Regions from separate parts of the Homo sapiens genome. Here regions 2 and 3 are each linked to region 1. Evidence: promoter capture Hi-C in human tissues and cell types (Jung and others, 2019). All regions are on one chromosome and are shown on one strand. Each heading gives the region's core, a stretch centred on a gene start or on the middle of the fragment in contact. The rest is flanking DNA. Distances are from core to core; before and after follow the strand shown. Region 1 holds the start of KANK3 (KN motif and ankyrin repeat domains 3). Region 2 overlaps ZNF414 (zinc finger protein 414). Region 3 has its middle 8.8 kb from the start of CERS4.

The links. Contacts are between HindIII fragments. The study calls those that stand out against the background at their distance.
Region 2: a contact is called between a fragment that was not itself captured here and the fragment with the promoter of KANK3 in region 1, in 1 of the 25 tissues and cell types used here (spleen).
Region 3: a contact is called between a fragment that was not itself captured here and the fragment with the promoter of KANK3 in region 1, in 1 of the 25 tissues and cell types used here (pancreas).

What each region holds. Positions count from the first base shown.
Region 1 is chr19:8,340,393-8,345,090 of GRCh38, forward strand. KANK3 (KN motif and ankyrin repeat domains 3) reads right to left here and starts at 2,870. Exons shown (of 11, transcript NM_198471.3): 1 at 2,833-2,870. RefSeq lists enhancers at 1-378, 2,313-3,104. The HindIII fragment of the contact is 26,102 bases long and covers 1-4,698 here.
Region 2 is chr19:8,505,352-8,510,049 of GRCh38, forward strand. It overlaps ZNF414 (zinc finger protein 414), which reads right to left. Exons shown (of 8, transcript NM_001146175.2): 8 at 4,327-4,698. Among named protein-coding and RNA genes, the nearest start is that of PRAM1, 5.1 kb to the left of the region's middle. RefSeq lists silencers at 371-420, 441-540, 651-910 and enhancers at 454-954, 994-1,580. The HindIII fragment of the contact is 8,917 bases long and covers 1-4,698 here.
Region 3 is chr19:8,198,245-8,202,942 of GRCh38, forward strand. No RefSeq gene overlaps it. Among named protein-coding and RNA genes, the nearest start is that of CERS4, 8.8 kb to the right of the region's middle. The HindIII fragment of the contact is 7,247 bases long and covers 1-4,698 here.

The sequences.
Region 1 (4,698 bases), core at 1,620-4,119:
ACAGAACAATTAAATCAGTTGCCTGTGGGAAGCACCCTCAGATTGGGCTCTGCCCATCTGCGGAACCCTTGTCAGCAGGTCCCTGCCACAGCTTCTGACTGCCCTTTACCTGTCCAGTCCTCCACTGACAGGCATCTGCCAAACCCACTTCATCCTCTCCCTGGGCCACGGCCCGTCTGTGCTAACCACATGGCAACACTCCCAGCCACCCCTTCTGGCTTCTCGAATCCCTGGGACCACCTGTGTGCCTGATGCTATGAAGCACTGAGCACCCACCAGCCCTCCTGACTCATTACCCTACTCCACCGCTGGGGAAACCGTAACTCCATTTCCCACTTCTGTCTGGCCGAGGTCCCTGACCTCTCCCTTCCCACTCCAAGGCCAGGCAGGGGGCCTCTTCCAGTCCCCAAGCAGCTGTTTCCCGTCCCTTCACACCAGCTGCAAGGGGTGGATCAACAGGCCAGCGGGTCATCGCAGAGGACAGCCAATGCCGTTCATCACTTGTTTTCAGGAAATTGCCAGGGAAGAACTGGGTTGTGGAAAAAGTCCAGATCAAGGGTTGGGGGGTCTGGGTCTACTTCTCACACAGCTGGCCGTATGACGCAATGGGGTCAGCGTCCTCCTCCGGTGACCTGGTCACACCCAAATCCCAGGCCCTGGGATCTCAGAAGACAGCTGTGGGCCATTCCTAAGACCTAAACTAGCTGAAGCAGTTGGATCCAGAGGCTGGGCTAAGAAAGGAATGGATCCCTCCAGAATGTCAAATAATAACAACGCTTTTGATATTTACTATGGGCCAGCCTCTAGTCTAAGGAATTTATGGATATTTACTTTTTTTTTTTTTTTTTTTAGAGGCAATGTCTCGCTCACTCTGTCACCCAGGCTGGAGTCAGTGGCTCGATCATAGCTCACTGTGGCCTTGAACCCCTGAGCTCAAGTGATCCGCCTCAGCCTCACAAATAGCTGAGACTACAGGAATGGACCTCTACACCTGGCTAATTCAGGCTAATATTTTAAATTTTTTGGTTTTTTGTTTTAGATGGAGTCATGCTCTGTCGCCCAGGCTGGAGTGCAGTGGCACAATCTCAGCTCACTGCAATCTCCGCCTCCCGGGTTCAAGTGATTCTCCTGCCTCAGCCTCCCAAGCAGCTGGGATTACAGGTGTGCACCACCATGCCTGGCTAATTTTTGTATTTTTAGTAGAGACGGAGTTTCACCATGTTGGCCAGGCTGGTCTCAAACCAGGCGTGAGCCGTGCCCGGCCTAATTTTATTTTTTGTAGATACAGGTGTCTTGCTATATTGCCCAGGCTGGCCTCCAACTCCTGGGCTCAAGCAATCTTCCCAGTTCAGCCTCCCAGAGTGCTGGGATTACAAGCATGAGCTACTGCACCTGACCTTGACTTATTTTTTAAAATCCTAGCTAAATCCACTGAGGTTGGATTTCCTATGATCATTGTCCCTTCCCCTATTGTACAGATGGAGAAACTGAGACACAGAACAGTTTAGTGTCCTGCCTGGGTCCTGTCATAAACAGGCAGAGGCAGGTTTTAAACCCAGGCAGGTCTTCCAGAGTCCTTGCTTTGGCCACTACACTTGAATGCTTTCTTTTATTTTTATTTTTGAGACGGAGTCTCTGTCACCCAGGCTGGAGTGCAGTGGCAGGATCTCGGCTCACTGCAACCTCTGAGCCCAGGGTTCAAGCGACTCTCCTGCCTCAGCATCCTGAGTAGCTGGGATTACAGGCACTTGCCACCACAGCTGGCTAATTTTTGAATTTTTAGTAGAGACGGGTTTCATCATGTTGGTCAGTCTGGTCTCAAACTCCTGACCTCAAGAGATCAGCCCTACTTGACCTCCCAAAGTGCTGGGATAACAGGCATGAACCACCAAGGAGCCTCAGGGGGCTTGTCCCTCCCAGCCTACACCTGTGTCAGACTCTGATTGGGGGCGGAGGTGCCCACCACCTCTGCGGCTTCAGGGGCTGGGGCCTCACTAAGTGGGGCGTTTAGCTGCCTTCCCTCTCCTCCGCTCCCTGCCCTGACTGTCACAGCTAGATCCGGATTCTGTGCCTGAGACCCCCTCATTAGGCCGTCAGAGCCGACGCCACACGCCCCCTCTCCCGCCCCAGGGACTATTTTGGGACGCAGAGCTGTGATCACCAAACCGGAGTGGTGGGGGCCACGGCAGGCCAGTGAGGATCCCAGTCCTGGGGAGAGGGCGCCTTCCAGGAGGCCCTGAGTACTGGCAGCCCCTGATGTCTGCTGGGACTCTCAGACTCTTGAGGTGGGTGGGTGGGGGACCGGTGGCGGCAGGAAGGTGGGTGTTAAAGTCATCATCACCCGTCCACCCCCAGGTCGTCCTAGCCGCACAGAGACAGAGCAGTTTCCTACAGGAAGCGCCGCCGGGCGGTTCCATCCGCTACCCATTGTCTGCGGGTCCGGGGGCCGTGCGTCCCTCCCCAAAACACCATTTCCGTGACACGCTCCCACACCCAGCCCAGCGCGAGGGGCTGGCTGGGGTCCCCAGGCCGTCCCGGGAAAGGGTCCCAGGGCCGGTTGTGGCATTAGGGAGCGAACGAGCCCCGCAGTGAGCTCCCGAAGGGCGAGAGGGGGGCAAGCCCACGCCTCCAGAGCCCCCCACTCTGCTCGCTACCCACCTGGGACTTCCAATGTGGGAGGGGTCCCGGCCAGAGGACACGACGCCCGCCCCGTCGCAGCGGGCAGAGCCCTCAGTGGGGCTGGAAACGCAGCGCAGCGCCGGGTCCCGGTGCGTCCCCGAATCCACCCACCCAGGGGTCCCCCATCCGTGTCCCCGCAAGCTGGCAATTTACCTGAAGCCGCAGCCCCAGCCGCGCCCGCACCCGAGCCCGCCCCCTCGAAGTCCGGGGACTGATTATCAAGGCCTTCGCCCTAACTGACGGCCACGCCAGCCAACCAGCACCCGAGGCTCTCCAAGCCGCCCAGTGGGACGGTGGGGTGGGACAGGCAGGCGGGGCCTGGAATGTAGGGGTGGTGACTGAGGGCGGGCCCTGGAGTGACGGTCGCCGAGCGCTGGCTGGCGGCATTTCTGCACCAGCAGAGGTCAAGTCTCTGCCCAGCGCCGGGCCAAGGAGCTTGGATTTGATCCACAGGCACGAGGGAGCCATGGGAGAACTATGAGTAGAAGAGTAACCCGGTGGGATTTCTATAACTGGCACTTATTTCGCAGTGCCTGGGTGAAGTATCAGGTCCCGGATCTTCCCCACCGCAGGGCCTCTGCACATGCTGTTCCACCTACCTGAAATGCTTTCCCTTGCACCTGTACACGTAGGTACTTTTTGAGGCTCCCCTACTGTTTTTTGTTTTGTTTTGTTTTTGTTTTTTGAGACGGAGTCCCAGGCTGGAGTGCAGTGACACTCACTGCAACCTCCGCCTCCTGGGTTCAAGCAATTCTCCTGCCTCAGCCTCCCGAGTAGCTGGGATTACAGACACACACCACCACGTCCAGCTAATATTTGTATTTTTAGTAGAGATGGGGTTTCACCATGTTGGCCGGGCTGGTCTGGAACTCCTGACCTCAAGTGATCCGCCCGCCTCAGCCTCCCAAAGTGTTGGGATTACAGGCGTGAGCCACCGCGCCCGGCCTTCCCTACTTTCTGAGGTTCAGCTTTTGTGTTGCTGCCCCCTAAATTCCTGACATAGCCCCTCCCCAGTTAGTATTTTTCTCATCACTCTATTGTATTAACCTAATAGCTACTTTTACTATCTGGAAAAAAAAAAAAAAGCAGACTCTGTTATTGGCAGGCGCAGTGACTCACGCCTGTAAATCCAGTATTTAGGGAGGCATAGATGGGAGGATAGCTTGAGCCAGGAGTTGAGACCAGCCTGGGCAACATAGCAAGACCTAGTTCTCAAAACAAAAGAAAACAACAAAACAAAAAGACAAAAACGAAACACTCAGTTATTTATTTGGTTTATTTTTTAATTTAATTTAATTTTTTTTTAGACAGAGTCTCGCTCTGTCCCAGGCTGGAGTGCAGTGGTGCGATCTTGGCTCACTGCAACCTCTGCCTCCTGGGGTTCAAGCGATTCTCCTGCCTCAGCCTTCTAAGTAGCTGGGATTACAGGCGCACACCACCACGCCCAGCTAATTTTTGTATTTTTAGTAGAGACAGGGTTTCACCATGTTGCCCAGGCTGGTCTCGAACTCCTGACCTCAGGTGATCCGCCCACCTCAGCCTCCCAAAGTGCTGGGATTACAGGCGTGAGCCACCATGCCTGGCTGGTTATTTATTGGTTTACCTGCTTGCCATCTCACTAAAGTGTCGGCACCAAGGCCAGGTGGGGTGGCTCATGCCTGTAATCCTAGCACCTCCTGAGGCTGAGGTGGGAGGATCTTTTGAGCCCAGCAGCTCAAGACCAGCCTGGGCAACAGAGTGAGACTCTGTCTCTAAATTAAGTGTCAGCACCATGGGAACAGGAAACTGGTTTTGATAACTGCTTTATCCAGCGACCCTAGTACACAGTAGATGCTTAATAAATGTTTGCTGAAATAATGTTTTCTTTTTCTTTTTTGAGTCAGGGTCTCATTCTGTTGCCCAGGGTAGAGTGCTGTGGCACAATATCTCAGCTCACTACAAACTCCGCCTCCCAGGTTAAAGAGATCCTCCTGCCTCAGCCTCCCAAGTAGCTGGGATTACAAGTGTGTGCTACGCCTA
Region 2 (4,698 bases), core at 1,334-3,833, 160 kb after region 1:
GGTGGCTGACGCCTGTAATCCCAGAAGTTTGGGAGGCCAGGCGGGCGTATCACCTGAGGTCAGGAGTTCGAGAGCAGCCTGGCCAACATGATGAAACCCTGTCTCTACTAAAAATACTGTTTGTGCACACCTGTAATCCCAGGTACCTGGGAGGCTGAGGCGGGAGAATCGCTTGAACCCGGGAGGCGGAGGTTGCAGTGAGCTGAGATTGCGCCATTGCACTCCAACCTGGGTGACAAGGCGAGACACCGTCTCAAAAAAAAAAAAATTAAATTAAATAATAAAAATAAGTAAATAAATAAATCAAGCAATGCTTGGCCACAGTAAGGAGCTCAATCAAGGTAATTAAAGGATTGGATGACAGCTGATGGATTCCCAGGTGCCTGGGCTGGTCACTACCCGTGCACTCTCGCAGCTAGGAGGGTCCAGCCAGGGCGCGCGCACCAAGGCCCCACGGGGGCGCCGTGGGGGTGAAGCGCAGGTCCCGGAGCTGTAGTCATGGTGCGCCTCCCCGCCAACTACCCTTTGTGTATTTGGCGCCTCCGTAGGGGCTCCCGGCAGGGTTCCGCGCGGCGCGGCTGCAGACAGGGACAGATAGGGTTACCGGAATCCCGGAGAAGGGAGCCCGGACCAGGGGAGTGAGAGTTCGTTAGGGCGCGCCTTGGGGAATCTGCGGGGTCGGAAACGCGAACAACGGTGTGCAGGGGGAGGAGCCCGGGGAGCACGTGGGCGGCGGATCCCAGGGCCGCAGGGCGCCCTCCACCTCCCCGCTCCTGGCCCGCAATGAGGGTAACCGGACCGGCACCTGCAAGTGACAGCTGGGGCTGGACAAATGCCGGGCACGGGCCTCTGGCCGGCCTCAGAGCTGTTCAGCGCGAGCCCGCGGCTTCCAGCCAACCTGCCCGCTATCCCCACTGCTCTCCCGGCTTTCATTCCCCCGAGTCTGAGATTCCTGGGCGCCCCCTGCTGGGCGGAGCCGGGGCCCAAGAGGGCTGGGCTCCTGTGCATGGGGGTTGGGGGCCGGCTTGAGGGTAGGAGGTCGTTTCTGCAGTGGACAGGGTGAACGGTGGAGGACAGGTGGTGAGCCAGCTCCCCAGGCCTCGCGGCAGTCAGTTCACTCCAGAGGGTAGTGTGGTGGCCGTGGGCCCGCTGTACACACAGGAAGGGCTGTCCCATCTCCGTGGGTGATGGGGTAGGGGAGAGGTCCCTGGACGGACGTGTTGGCTCTAGGTTTCTCTGGAAAGATACTGACAGACTGGGAAGAGGCGTGGCCTAGATCTGGGGGTGGCCGAATAAAGAAACTGATGGGGACAAAGACTCCTGGGGGCCCCCGGGACCCTGGAGAGGGGTTAGGGGCCTGGGGGACAGAGAACACAGCGCTGTCCCTGGAGATGGGGGAGAGGCTTGGACTACAGCCAGATCTAGGGACCTGCAGAATGCGGGAACAGGGGCGTGTCCTCTGGACCTGCTGGCAGGGTTTTCTCTTCTCGTGGTAACCGTGCGCAGCTCCCAAGATGGTGCAGAATCAGTGCCGCTGACTGGGAACTGGGGCTGGCTAGAGGCCTCCTAGCCTCACCTTCTCTATATATCTGTAAAATGGGCCCCTTCACCCTGTCCCACCCTCCTCCCCAGGTCGAGAGAGTCCCAGGCAGCCATGGGCTCGGGACGTGAAGTTCTCAGCAGACATTTCCCAAGCCCCTCCTCTCCCTGCAGCCTCTCTTTTCATCCTCGCGTCCACCCCAAAGGACTCACCAGTCATCATGACACCCTTTTAAGGACGAGGGAATTGGGAGGCAGGGAAGTCGACTCTTTTCCAGGGTCCCACAGTGGTGGTTTCAAGGCTTCTGGCTGAGAAGGGGGAGCTTAGGGGGCCTCCTGATGGCCTGTCCTACCCCATCCTGACAACCACCTCAGCTGGGGCCTACAGGTTCTGGGAGAGTGGACACCCAGCCCAAGCCACGTCAGCTGAGGCTGCTGCCCCGTCACATCACAGCCCCATCAAGGACAGAGCAGTCTTCAGGCCCCTGGTGAGGCGGTGGGCAGTGGGGCAGACAGACGGGTCCCAAGGGCCTGAGGATCCCCTCCTGCCCCTTGCAGTGGCTGAAGGGCTTCTGGAGCCCAGAGCTGTCCATCTTTGAGGTGACATGGCACTGAGCAGGTGTGGGGCAGGTGGCCCTTGGCTTGTCTACCTGGATGGCTTTGACTCAGAGCCTGAGGTGGACACGTTGGTGGATGAAAAGTCCAAGGAAGATAGGTGCGGTGGATCACGCCTGTAATCCCAGCACTTTGGGAGGCCGAGGCGGGCGGATCATGAGGTCAAGAGTTCGAGACCAGCCTCGCCAACATGCTGAAACCCCATCTCTACTAAAAATACAAAAAATTAGCCAGGCATGGTGGAGGGCACCTGTAATCCCAGCTACTTGGGAGGCTCAGGCAGGAGAATGGTGTGAACCTGGGAGGCGGAGGCTGCAGTGAGCTGAGATGGTGCCACTGCACTCCAGCCTGGGTGACAGTGCGAGACTCCATCTTCCAAAAAAAAAAAAAAAAAAAAAATCTGAGGAAGACAACAAGGAGGGTGGCGGGGGGCAAGGAGAAGGTGGGAGGGCAGTGACGGAGGAGTGGGGTCTGGGGGCCCCGCCCAGGGGTTACTGGTGTCTCGGCTGCAGATACCAGGATGAGGAGGTGAGGGGGAACCCCGAAGTGGATTCAGAGAATGGAGAAAGGAGGAGGAGGTAAGGATTGAGACAAGGTGGACTGCGTGAAGGAGGTCCCTGGGTTCTTGCTCACAGGATGTCTGTATATCCAGGAGGATGAGGGAGACAGTGAGTGTTGTTCTGGGAGGGGACCGAGAGGTTCAAGGTAGGGCCTTGTGGGCTACTGGGAGAACAGGATCTTCATCCAGAGGGCCATGGGAAGCCACTGAAGGGTGCCGGGCAGGAGAGGGGAACAATCAGAAGAGACCCTGGCAGGGCGTGGTGGCTCACACTTGTAATCCCAGTACTTTGGGAGGCCAAGGTGGGTCGATCACCTGAGGTCAGGAGTTCGAGACCAGCCTGACCAACATGTTGAAACCTCATCGCTACTAAAAATACAAAAAGTTAGCCGGGGTGGTGGCAGGCGCCTGTAATCCCAGCTACTTGGAGGCTGAGGCAGGAGAATCATGTGAACCCAGAAGGCGGAGGTTGCAGTGAGAGCTGAGAGTGTACCATTGCACTCCAGCCTGGCACTGCCATTGCACTCCGGCGAGACTCTGTCTCCAAAAAAAAAAAAATAAATAAAATAAAAAGAGGAAGAAGAGACTGTTTTCTGTTTTCAGTCTTGGGGTAAGGGCAGGTTGGGGAGAGTAGGGGGTGGGCTAGGGGACCCTGGGGCTGGCGAGATGAGGATAGAAGGGAGAGGGATCATGGAGGTAAAACCAGCTTCCAAGGGATGGCTGTGGATATCACCTGGGACTTCCATACCTGGGAGGCTGGCTTCAGGGGTGAGGAGAAAGACCAGGCCATGGAGGGCTGGCCTTGACCCACCCCACTCCTCAGAGCTGGGACATGGTGGAAATTGGTCTGGCAGACAGCAAGGAGGATGAAGACCTGAGTCCCCAGCCTGCCTCCCCAATCCCAAAGGATTCTTCCCCTTAAGTCAGTATGGGGTTCAGGGTCTGGGGGTCTTCAGGCCATCCTGGCCAGTCCCTGCACTTTCTCAGGACCAGCCTTCCAGCCTGTCCCCGAAGCTCCTGGGATTTTTTCTTTTTTTGTCTCCCAGGCTGGGGTTGCAATGGTGTGATGATGGCTCACTGCAGCCTTGAACTGCTGTGCTCGTGATCCTCCTGCCTCAGCCTCCCAGGTAGCCACCACGGCTATTTTTTTTTTTTTTTTTTTTTAAGACAGAGTTTCACTCTATCACCCAGGCTGGAGTGCAGGGTCTTGATCTCGGCTCACTGCAACCTCCATCCCACCGGGTTCAAGCGATTCTCCTGCCTCAGGCTCCCGAGTAGCTGGGATTATAGGTGCCCACCACCATGCCCGACTAATTTTCATATTTTTAGTAGAGATGGGGTTTCACCATGTTGGCCAGGCTAGTCTCCAACTCCTGACCTCAAGTGATCCACCCACTTCGGCCTCCCAAAGTGCTAGGATTACAAGCATGAGCCACCATGCCCAGCCATGCCTGATTATTTTTTGTATTTTTTTTGGTGGGCGGGGAGGTAGAGATGCGATCTTGCTAGGTTGCCCAAGCTGGTCTCGAACTCCTGGCCTGAGGCGCCCCTCCTGCCTCAGCTTCCTAAAGCACTGAGACTGCAGACATTAGTCACCTCTCCTGGTTACGGGATTGCTTTTTAATTTTCTTTATTTTTGAGATGGAGTTCCACTCGTATTGCCCAGACTGGAGTGCAATAGCACAATCTCAGCTCACTGCAACTTCCACCTCCCAGGTTCAAGTGATTCTCCTGCCTCAGCCTCCCAAGTAGCTGGGACTACAGGTGTGCGCCACCACACCTGGCTAATTTTTTGTGTTTAGTAGAGATGGGGTTTTACCATGTAAGTCAGGCTGGTCTCGAACTCCTGACCTCAGGTGCTCCACCTGCCCCAGCCTCCCAAAGTGCTGGGATTACAGGCGTGAGCCACTGTGCCCGGCCGGGACTTCTTAAAAGAAAACTGGAGACCGGGCGTGGTGGCTCACGCCTGTAATTCCAGCACTTTG
Region 3 (4,698 bases), core at 1,721-4,220, 140 kb before region 1:
TGGCGCGATCTTGGCTCACTGTAAGCTCCACCTCCTGGGTTCACGCCATTCTCCTGCCTCAGCCTCCCAAGTAGCTGGGACTACAGGCGCGCCTGCCACCACACCTGGCTAATTTTTTTGTATTTTTAGTAGAAATGGGGTTTCAACATGTTAGCAAGGATGGTCTCGATCTCCTGAACTCGTGATCCACCCGCCTCAGCTTCCCAAAGTGCTGGGATTACAGGCATGAGCCACCGCACCCGGCCTCAAATTATTTTTAATTTTTATTTTTCTTCAGACAAGAGTCTCACTCTGTCACCCAGGCTGGAGTGCAGTGGTACAATCACAGCTCACAGCTCACTCCAGCATTGAACTCCTGGTCTCAAGCAATGCTCCCACAGCCTCCCAGAGTGCTGGGATTACAGGTATGAGCCATGGGGCTTAGCCGCAAAGGCTTTTTTTGGGGTAGGTCGGGGGCTGATGTACAACTGAATGCACAGGAAAGGCCTTTCTAAGAATAAAATAAACATAAAAGTCACCAAAGGGCTGGGCATGGTGGCCCAAGCCTGTAATCCCAGCACTTTGGGAGGCTGAGGCAGGTGGATCACCTGAGGTCAGGAGTTCGAAACCACCCTGACCAAAATGGTGAACTCTGTCTCTACTAAAAATGCAAAAATTAGCTGGGCATGGTGGTGCACGCCTATAATCTCAGCTACTCGGGAGGCTGAAGCAGGAGAATCTCTTGAATCCAGGAGGCAGAGGCTGCAATGAGCCAAGATCACACCACTGCACTCCAGCCTGGGTGACAGAGCAAGACTCCATCTCAAAAAACAACAACAACAAAAAAAAAAAATGGAGGAAGAAGATTGAAGCTCACAGAATAAGAAGTAATTTCTTTAATACTAAAAAGAGCTTCTATATATATTTTACCACAGTAAAAGTAAAGAGGCTCTATAAATCAATAACAAAAAGGCTGTCGCCTGCAGAAAAACAAACAAACAAACAAAAAAAAAACGTTTCCAGGGAAAGACTAGAGGTCCACGTTTAAAAATGTTTTATTTTAAAGGCCAGACATGGTGGCTCATGGGAGGCTGAGGCGGGTGAATCACCCGAGGTCAGGAGTTCGAGACTAGCCTGGCCAACATGGTAAATCCCTGTCTCTACTAAAAATAGAAAAAATTAGCTAAGCATGGTGGCGGGCACCCGTAATCCCAGCTACTTGGGAGGCTGAGGCAGGAGAATCTCTTGAACCCGGCAGGTGGAGGTTGCAGTAAACTGAGATCACACCATTGCACTCCAGCCTGGGTGACAGAGCAAGACTCCATCTCAAAAAAAAAAAAAAGTTTTACTTTAGAGACAGTGTCTTGCTCTGTTGCCCAGTCTAGAGGGCACTGGTGCAATCATAGCTCACTGCAGCTGCAAACTCCTGACTCAAGTGATCGTCCTCCCTGAGCCTCCTGAGTAGCTGAGACTACAGGCATGAGCCACCACGTCTGGACAAGATCCACTTACAAATGTGTATATAGAAAGACAGAACCAGGCTGGGCACAGTGGCTCACACCTGTAATCCCAGCGCTTTGGGAGGCTGAGGCAGGTGGATCACAAGGTCAGGAGATCGAGACCATCTTGGCTAACACGGTGAAACCCCGTCTCTACTAAAAAAAAAAAATACAAAAAAGTAGCTGGGTGTGGTGGCAGGCGCCTGTAGTCCCAGCTACTCGGGACGCTGAGGCAGGAGAATGGCGTGAACCTGGGAGGCGGAGCTTGCAGTGAGCTGAGATCGCGCCACTGCTCTCCAGCAGCCTGGACGAGAGTGCGAGACTCCGTCTCCAAAAAAAAGAAAGACAGAACCTAACTATTTCCCAGGCTCATCTCAAACTCCTGACCTTAAGCCATCCTCTGGCCTTGACCTCCCAAAGTGCTGGAATTACAGGCATGAGCCACCGTGCCTGGCTCTGAGATCCAGTTTTTAAACACAGAGATGTTCAACCTCACTCGAAATAATAAAAATGCAGGCCAGGCGCGGTGGCTCATGCCTGTAATCCCAGCAGTTTGGAAGACCGAGGTGGGCAGATCACCTGAGGTCAGGAGTTCAAGACCATCCTGGCCAACATGGTGAAACCCCGTCTCTACTAAAAATATAAAAATTATCCGGGCATGGTGGCAGGCGCCTGTGGTGCCAGCTACTTGGGAGGCTGAGGCAGGAGAATCGCTTGAACCAGGCAGGTGGAGGTTGCAGCGAGCCGAGATCACGCCATTGCACCCCAGCCTGGGGGACAAGAGAGAGACTTCGTCTCAAAAAAATAAATAAATAAATAAAATAAAAAATAAAAATGCAAATGAGAACTACATACTTTTAAACCTCTCAGTTAGCAAAGATTAGAATGTTTGATAACATGTGGAGGATGAGTCCTTTGTGGAGAAACCTTTGGCAATAGTTATCCACGATACACCTGCTCACACCCTTTGACAAGTAATTCCACTTCTAGGAATTTACTGATGAGATCTCTTCATGCTGGGTTGACATATGACCTCTACGGCAGGTTATTCAATTCATCGTTGCTTGGATCAAAAACAACCGCCTAGACCAGGCGTGGTGGCTCAGGTCTGTAATCCCAGCATTTTGGGAGGCTGAGGCGGACAGACCATCTGAGGTCAGGAGTTCGAGACCAGCCTGACCAACATGGCAAAACCCCGTCTCTACTAAAACCACAATAATTAGCCGGGCTTGGTGGCAGGCACCTATGATCCCACCTACTGGGGAGGCTGAGTCGGGAGAATTACTTGAACTGGGGAGGCAGAGGTTGCAGTGAGCCGAGATCGTGCCACTGCACTCCAGCCTGGGTGACAAGAGCAAGACTCTGTCTCCAAAAATGCAACCAAACAACAACAACAAACAACGAAAATCGCCTAGTCCATCAATAGGAAACTGATAAGCAAAGTCTGGCTCAACCGTGGCATCCTATGTAGCCGCTAAAAAGAACAATATGGGGACAGGTGCACTGCCTCCCACCTGTAATCACAGCACTTTGGGAGGCCAAAGTGGGAGGCTCACTTGAGGCCACAGGTTTGAGACCAGCCTGGGCAACACAGTGAGACCCCATCTCTACAAAACTTTAAAAAATTAGCTGGCCATGATAGTGCACACTGTAGTCCCAGCTACCCAGGAGGCTGAGGTGGGAGGATCACTTGAGCCCAGGAGGTCGAGGCTGCAGTGAGCTATGATCACACCACTGCACTCCAGCCTGGGCGAAAGAATGAGACCCTATCTCTGAAAGAAAAGAAAAAGAAAAACAAAACGAAACAGAAAAAGAGCAAAGTGGTTCCCAAAGTATGCATATATCAAAAGATCACACTGTACCTGGTAAGTATATACAATTAATATTTGTCAAATAAAAGAAGAACAAGATGGTGAGAACTGCTGAACTCTGTGAATGGATCAAAAACCTTCGACTTGAAAACTTGAAATAGGCAAACTGGATGGTATGAAAATTATATCTCTAAAGCTGTTACCAAGCAACACAAAGTAAAACACTCAGTTTCCCAAGAAAGAAAAAGGCAGGAAGGAGACCCCCATCTCTACAGAAAATAAATAAATACATAAATGAGCTAGGTGTAGTGGTGCATGCCTGTAGTCCCAGCTATTCTAGAGGCTGAGGCAGGAGGATCACTTGAGCCCAGGAGTTGTGGAGGCTTCTGTGAGCTATGATTGTGCCACTGCCCTCCAGCCTGGGTGACAGAGGGAGATCCTGTCTCAAAAAAAGAGGCCGGGCGCGGCGGCTCACACCAGTAATCCCAGCACTTTGGGAGGCGGAGGTGGGTGGATCACAAGGTCAGGAGATCGAGACCATCCTGGCTAACACAGTGAAACTCCGTCTCTACTAAAAATACAAACAATTAGCTGGGCGTGGTGGTGGACGCCTGTAGTCCCAGCTACTCGGGAGGCTGAGGCAGGAGAATGGCGTGAACCTGGGAGGCAGAGCTTGCAGTGAGCCGAGATCACGCCACTGCACTCCAGCCTGGCGACAGAGTGAGACTCCGTCTCAAAAAAAAAAAAAAAGCAAGCAAGAAAGAGGGAGATAGAGAGGGAAGGAAGGCAGGAAGGAAGGACAAAAAGAAGGAAAGAAAGAAAACAGGAATTCAGAGGGAAAGGGTGGGGAGGGAGGTGAGGGATAAAAGACCATATATCGGCCAGGCGCGGTTGCTCCTGCCTGTAATCCCAACACTTTGGGAGGCCGAGGCGGGTGGATCACCTGAGGTTGGGAGTTCAACACCAGCCTGACCAACATGGAGAAACCCCGTCTCTACTAAAAATACAAAAAAAATTAGCCAGGTGTGGTGGCGCTTGCCTGTAATCCCAGCTACTCAGGAGGCTGAGGTAGGAGAATCACTTGAGCCCCGGAGGCGGAGGTTGCAGTGAGCAGAGATGGCGCCACTGTACTCCAGCCTGGGCAACAAGAGTGAAACCCCATCTCAAAACACACACACACACATATCGGGTACAGTGTATACTGCTCAGGTGACGGGTGCACCAAAGTCTCAGAAATCACCACTAATCAATTCTTTAGTGGTTATTTGGCCATGTAGCCAAAAACCACCTGTACCCCAAAAACTATTGAAATGTTTTTTAGAAAGGATATTTTGACACAAAGAGAAAAAAACCCAACTGCTTCCAGGGTTACCCTAAAGTCCTCCCCATCGAGTCTAGGAGAGGGGATG